2 separate regions of the Homo sapiens genome follow, and region 1 is linked to region 2. The links are contacts of gene promoters, found by promoter capture Hi-C in blood cells and fetal thymus (Javierre and others, 2016). All regions are on one chromosome and are shown on one strand. Each heading gives the region's core, a stretch centred on a gene start or on the middle of the fragment in contact. The rest is flanking DNA. Distances are from core to core; before and after follow the strand shown.

What was found. Contacts are between HindIII fragments. The CHiCAGO score rates a contact against its expected background, and 5 or more counts as called.
Region 1: a fragment that was not itself captured here is called in contact with the fragment with the promoter of GAST in region 2 in 1 of 17 cell types (non-activated CD4 T cells); the score reaches 6.2 in non-activated CD4 T cells.

The regions. Positions count from the first base shown.
Region 1 is chr17:40,763,830-40,767,207 of GRCh38, forward strand. KRT26 (keratin 26) reads right to left here. Exons shown (of 8, transcript NM_181539.5): 8 at 2,409-2,837. The coding sequence ends at 2,686. Among named protein-coding and RNA genes, the nearest start is that of KRT26, 6.7 kb to the right of the region's middle. The HindIII fragment of the contact is 4,417 bases long and covers 1-3,378 here.
Region 2 is chr17:41,710,376-41,713,727 of GRCh38, forward strand. It overlaps GAST (gastrin), which reads left to right and starts at 1,956. Exons shown (of 3, transcript NM_000805.5): 1 at 1,956-2,012. The HindIII fragment of the contact is 7,695 bases long and covers 1-3,352 here.

The DNA of each region.
Region 1 (3,378 bases), core at 506-3,005, 950 kb before region 2:
GTTGAGCACTTTTTAGAAATTTAATGACAATTTGGAATTTCCGTCAGCATATTGAAGATATTGTTCTATTGTCTCCTGCCTTCCATTGTTGCTGTTGAGAAGTCACTGTGTATCTCACTGTTACTCATTTGAAAGTAATCATTATTTTCCTATATGGCTGATTTTTAAGGTCTTTTGTTTGTTATTTTGTGGTTTTACTATGATTTTTCTACATGTGGATTTCTTTTTATCTTGTCTTTAGTTTCACAATTGGTAGCTCACAATTAAGGATGTCCCATAAAAGTTTTTGGGATTTGTCAAGTGTTGGTGACAGTCTTTCACTTTTTTCATTTTTTTGCTAATACTAACTTTTTGGAAACAAAGCTGAGTACGTAAACTTTCCAGCCTTCATTTCAAGAAGTATGGTTGATTCATCAACAGCATGTATTTTGGAGTCATGGGTTATGCTTGTATTAAGTGCAAATCAGTCTTATCTAGATAGGGAAATCTATTTAAGTAGAAAGAGTGGATATAGAAAAATGGAAGTTGGCCCAATTGTTCTTGGAAAGAATAGGACCTCTGTTGGGAATAAGAAAGAGTGAATAGTACTGGTGGCACAAGAGAAAGAGGGTCAACATTGTGTTTCTAAGGTGGTGAGTTAAGCAAGTGTCTTTGGAGAGCTGATAATGTAGTTTTACTCTTTTAATTCTTGGGGTATCGAGCCTCTGAGAGACCCTACCTGTCAGAATGAGAGAGTAATGAAGCATAGTGATGGAAACTGTAGCAGAAGTGAGGGGGCATCTGGTAACCAGGACTTAATAAATATGGAGGCAGAAAAGGGAGGTGCTGGGAGAGGAGCTGGAGATGGGTAACTAGCAGATAGGAAAAGACTACACATACTGCAGGCATGCTGTAGGCTTTCTGTAGGGATGCTGTAGGTATCTGTAGGCATAATGTAGATATACTGTAGGCATAATGTAGACATCTTTCAGCATACTGTAGGCATACTGTAGGCATGCTATACACTGTAGAATGCAGTAGGCATACTGTAGGCATACATACTTGAGAGATTTGTAGTCATGCTACAAGCATGCTTGTTTTATGTTACAAGCAGGCCACTGCACTGAAAGCCATACTCCTGGCTTTCATTGTATCATTGATAGTCAAGCACATAAAAGTCTGCCTGATTGTGGTCCCTCTTGGGTGGTAATGGAAACTTAGTGTGAAAATAGTGAATTCCTATGCTTATTTTTGTTCTGTTCAATGGAACTCAAATCACCATGGCAGAGGAGAGCTGGATTTGCATCTAAGACCCGCTACACATCAGCTGTGTAGCCCTGGAGAAATTCCTTAATCTCTGAGTATCTGTTTTCCTCATATACAAAATAAAGATGATAAAACACCTACCTCATAAGCATTTATGAAAATTAAATTGGATAATGTATATAAAGTGAGTTAAAACACACTCAGTAAATGTAAGATATTGTCACTATAGTTCTGCAATTGAAAGTGCTTCTAACCAGACTTAATCTAACTCCATACCATTGAAATATGGCCTTTGTCATCATGGTTGGGACCATTCATCACAGGAAGACCCTGACAAAAGGAATTTTCAGCTGTATCTACATCTCCAGAAAGTGTCATCAGGCTAAGGTCAACTACCTTATATGGAAGCAGGAAATAATGGTGACCAAGCCTATATTTGAGACTTGTAAAATGCAACCTCAGAGGGTTTAGCACCCTGAAATGGTGCAGTTCAGTCTTCATGGGCCATTTTGAATCCTGCATTGTCTATATGCCAGTTGATTAAAACCTTTCAATGTTGTTCTTGCCATGCAAGTTGGAAATCCAGGTGATTATAGAGGTCACTGCCTCATTCCACTCCAAATGAAAAAAACCTCTTTAGCCTAGAACTTTGCTGCTTTCCAATCCCAGCTGCACTTTCCAAAATAATTTAGTAAGGATGTCAGGCAGAATTTTGTGTGCAGGAGAATATGAGCAAGATTTAGAACCACCCCTAGGCTTTAGTTCTAAATTTGCTTAGTCATTACCATGGTAGAGGCAGAGAGATGCATGTGCTGGAAAATGGAAAAACGGCTTTCCAGGTTCAGATTTTACAACAAACATTTGCTGATCACCCAGGCTAGGCATTGTAAGGGTAAACAAATCCTAGTGATCAGTGGGTATTATCTTCTTCTTTTATGTCCATAGACACTCAAACCCAAGAAGATCAACTTATTTACGTAGTCAATCAGGGACAGATTTGGGACCAGACATTAGAGCTAGTGCTCTTTCCACCTTATTCTGTTATTAATTGAGGTAACTGTGACTATGAAATGAAACACATTATTTTATTAGCAGGTCCTTAGTATTGCCACATTGGGATCAACTTTAGCAATTAAAAAGAATCAGATATTAAAAAAAATAACTTGCAATAGAAGAATTTTTAATGAAATGTCAAAAAAGGCCCCCAAAATAAAAACAAAAATTAGGGACAGAGCAGGATTTTTCTACTCTGGAAAAGGATTACATGCATAGAACATGAGAAAAGGAAGAGAAGGAGAACAAATTCTAGCCCTTTTAAGAACAGAAATGAATAATTTCCTTAGGTTATTTGACCAGTAGGATTTTTGCAAAGGCAGCCTTTCTTTCTTTCTTTCTCTCTCTCTCTCTTTCTTTCTTTCTTTCCAAATAACTTTTTCCTCATTATGGTGCTTTAGAAGGTACTCGTTGCTCTACTGTAATGTTGCTTATTTTAGAGGACTTTTCTTCAACTGAGTGGACTCTCAGTGAAAGGAGATTGCCAATTTGATCCAGTTCCTCAACCACTGTTTTAACAATAGTTTCTTCTGTTGAGTCTAAAATAAAATAAATAAAACATTAGTGGTCATTTTTTAACAGGTTGAAAAGTAGCCATAATAGGTATGCTTTTTGTTTGTTTGTTTTTTTGAGAAGGAGTCTCGCTCTGTCACCCAGGCTGGAGTGCAGTGGCATGATCTCGGCTCACTGCAGCCTCTGCCTCCCGGGTTCAAGAGATTCTTCTGCCTCAGTCTCCCGAGTAGCTGGGATTACAGATGCCTGCTACAATGCCTGGCTAATTTTTGTATTCTTAGTAGAGATGGAGTTTCACCATGTTGACCAGGCTGGTCTCGAACTCCTGACCTCAAGTGATCCACCTGCCTTGGCCTCCCAAAGTGCTGGGATTACAAGCATGAGCCACTGCACCTTTTAAAAAATGTTTGCTTTTTAAAAATGTTTTTTGCAAGTTTGCAGTAAATCGATATATAATACTGTGTTTGAAGTCAGTGTTTAGCAAGATCCTGGACTATCTCTCTTATATTTGCCACTGCTTTTAGAGCAATGGGCATTTGAAAACATAAATGAAACATGGATTAAAAC
Region 2 (3,352 bases), core at 706-3,205:
GATCTCTTGACTTCGTGATCCACCTGCCTCAGCCTCCCAAAGTGCTGGGATTACAGGAGTGAGCCACCAAGCCTGGCCAAATAGTGACATTCTAACCATTGCCTATGGAATAGGAGACATGCTTCTATTTGTTGAAATTGTCATCCCTCATGTAACCAGCCTGGGGAAGAACATTCAAGGGGGCATAACCCCCTCCATGGGCACAAACTGAGTCTTGGGCTCTGGTACAACCAGGGTTCTACTGAAAACTTATCATTTCCCATTAGTGTTACCATAGCAACACGAATGTCTTCATTCATTCCCCTAGTGTATGAACAGAGCTACACTCACCCCACCTGTTCTCCCAAGCCCCCTCAAAGTCCTTTCATCTCTGAGATTCTGTGATTCAATTAATTATCACCAATGCCTGCACTGCTTTTTGTCGTTTTCATTTATTCCATCTGCTGAGTCACCGTGTCCTGCTCTAGATGAGAGTGGTTATTCACAACGGTTATTCAGCCGTCAGTTGCCATGGACACCGCACAGCCTGCTTCCTTCATCACCCATTAATTCTCAGCAAGGCTGGCTGTAAGCATGGGTACCACTGCAGTTACCCAATACCCAAGGGGATCAAACTCTCCCAGAAAAGGTGGGGGCCCAATGACGCATGAACAGGAGCAAAATCTCTGCTCTCAACAGTGGAAAAGTAAAAAACAGCCTACGGCTCATTACATCTGGTCAAACCATGTGGAGGCAGCAGTTTATCAAATAAGTCAACAAGGTACCATTTTGTTTTCTGGTCCATCTTTGGCAAATGCTTTAGTCTGTTTGCTAACCATTTGAAGGTATATTTTGATACTGAAAAGTTGTTGGCTGGGCATGGTGGCTCACGTCTGTAATCCCAGAACTTTGGCAGACTAAGCTGGGCCGATCATGAGGTCAGGAGTTCGAGACCAGCCCGCCCAACACGATGAAACCCCATCTCTACTAAAAATACAAAAAATTAGCCAGGCGTGGGGGCGTGCGCCTGTAATCCCAGCTACTAGGGAGGTTGAGGCAGAAGAATCGCTTGAACCCAGGAGGCGGAGGTTCCAGTGAGCCGAGATCACACCACTGCACTCCTGCACTCCAGCCTGGTGACAGAACTAGACTTTGTCTCAAAAAAAAAAAAAAGTTGTTATGCAGATTACTAGCTCCCCTTGAAAGCAAAATGAAGGAGGCTTCAAAGGCAGGACCCTCCAGGAATTGGTTCTGCATAGGGGGTTTGCAAGTGGTGGTGCATGGGCAGCTGACCTAGAAGACACGGGGCAGCTACAAGCCAAACCCAGCCCAGCACAGAGGGCCTAAGGAGAAGAAGGCACCAAGGGTGTTCCATGGTAGGGGGAGGGTGAAAGGACTTCAGAGGTGACCAGGATGTGAGCCACTAGAAGGAGAGAACAGGGCCATCAGCCCACAACCCATTGCTCCTGGTAACACGTTATGTTTGCAGAGTCCAGTGGAGGGGACGGGGAATCAATACATCACCCCACATTCACACGCTTGCCAAACATCAGTGGATGGCGAAATCCACTTTCCCTGAATCTAAGCCCATCGGGTTCACTCCCTCACCTACCACCACCCACAAAGGTCCCTATGTAGTTCGAGAGATAAGTGCCAGGCCTCTGACCCCCAGGATATGGTGGGAAGCATTGCTCCTGACCCAGGGAGCTTGGTTCCTGCCCCTCAGGTACAGCTGGAGAGCTGCCGCCACCCCGCTCCAGCCCCTCACCATGAAGGTCAACTCCCCTATCCTTCCCCCACATCCTGGATGACTGACTGACACTAAATGAAAGGGCGGGGCAGGGTGATGGGCTGTACCTGTGCCCCACCCCATTCCTCTCGCCTGGACTCATATGGCAGGGTAGGGGCGGGGTGGGGGGACAGTTGGGAGGGACCTTGAGGGCTTTATAAGGCAGGCCTGGAGCATCAAGCAGAGCAGAGACCTGAGAGGCACCAGGCCCAGCCGTGGCACCACACACCTCCCAGCTCTGCAGGTGAGAAAACCCAGGAGGAGAGGGGAGAGGCTAGGAAGTGGGTTGACAGGTCCTCTCCCCCATCAAGGTACCAGGCCACTGGCCAGAGTCTGGGGCTCACCCCTTGGGGTCTCCAGAGCTGGGACCCTTTCTTTATCCCAGGATGGAACTAGGTCTTGGCTCCAGTACCTACCCTGGTATTCCCAACCTTGCCTTCCACCTGCCCTTCTGCCGCAGCCGGGGCCCTGCCCTTAGCCTATCCCTTCACACTCTTCCCAGCCCTGGGAGGTGAGGAGGACTGGGGTTCTTCTCCTTTCTCTCAGACAAGAAAACTGAGGCCCAGAGGCAAGATGTGACTTGCCCAAAGTCACAGGGATTATTAGGCAAGGCTGGGATAGGAATCCACAGCTCCTGGATCCCACTTCAAGCCCTTTCCTAGACCAGTGCCATCCAAAAGAACGTCCTATGATGCAGGAAATGGTCTTCATCTGCACTGTTCAATATGGTAGCCACTAGCCACGTGTGCGCTTGAAATGGGGTTAGTGTAAGGAAGTTTTTGTTGTTGTTGTTGTTTGTTTTTTTATATAGAGTCTCGCCGTGTCACCCAGGCTGGAGTGCAGTGACATGCAACCTCTGCCTCCCAGGTTCAAGCAATTCTCCTGACTCAGCCTCCCGAGTAGCCGGGATTACAGGCGCCTGCCACAACACCCAGCTAATTTTTCATATTTTTGGTAGAGACAGAGTTTCACCATGTTGGCCAGGCTGGTCACAAACTCCTGACCTCAAGTGATCCAACCCCCTCAGCCTCCCAAAGTGCTGGGATTACAGGCGTGAGCCACTGCACCTGACCATAATTTTTTAATTTAATTAATTTAAATGTAAAGAGCCACATGTGGCTGGTGGCTATAGCACTGAACAACACATGTGGTTAGCATCTGACAATACAGCTCCAGATCACTGATTTTTCAAACATTTCTTCAGCAGCAGAATTCTTTTCTTCCAAAGAAAACCTAACAGAAAACCTGATTATGAAAAACTTAATGGCCAGGCACCGTGGCTCATGCCTGTGATCACAACACTTTGGGAGGCTGAAGCAAGCAGATTGCTTGAGCTCAGGAGTTCCAGACCAGCCTGGGCAACATAGTGAGACCTCATCTCTACTAAAAATAAAAACAAAAAAATTAGCTGGGCATAGTAGTGCACACTTGTAGTCCCAACTACTCAGGAGGCTGAGGTGGGAGGATCTCTTGAGCCCAAGAGGTCGAGGCTGCAGCGAGTCAGGATCACGCCAGCCACTGCATTCCAGCCTGGGAGACAGAGCAAGATTCTGTCTCACAAAAAGAAAAGAAAAAAAGAAAAAC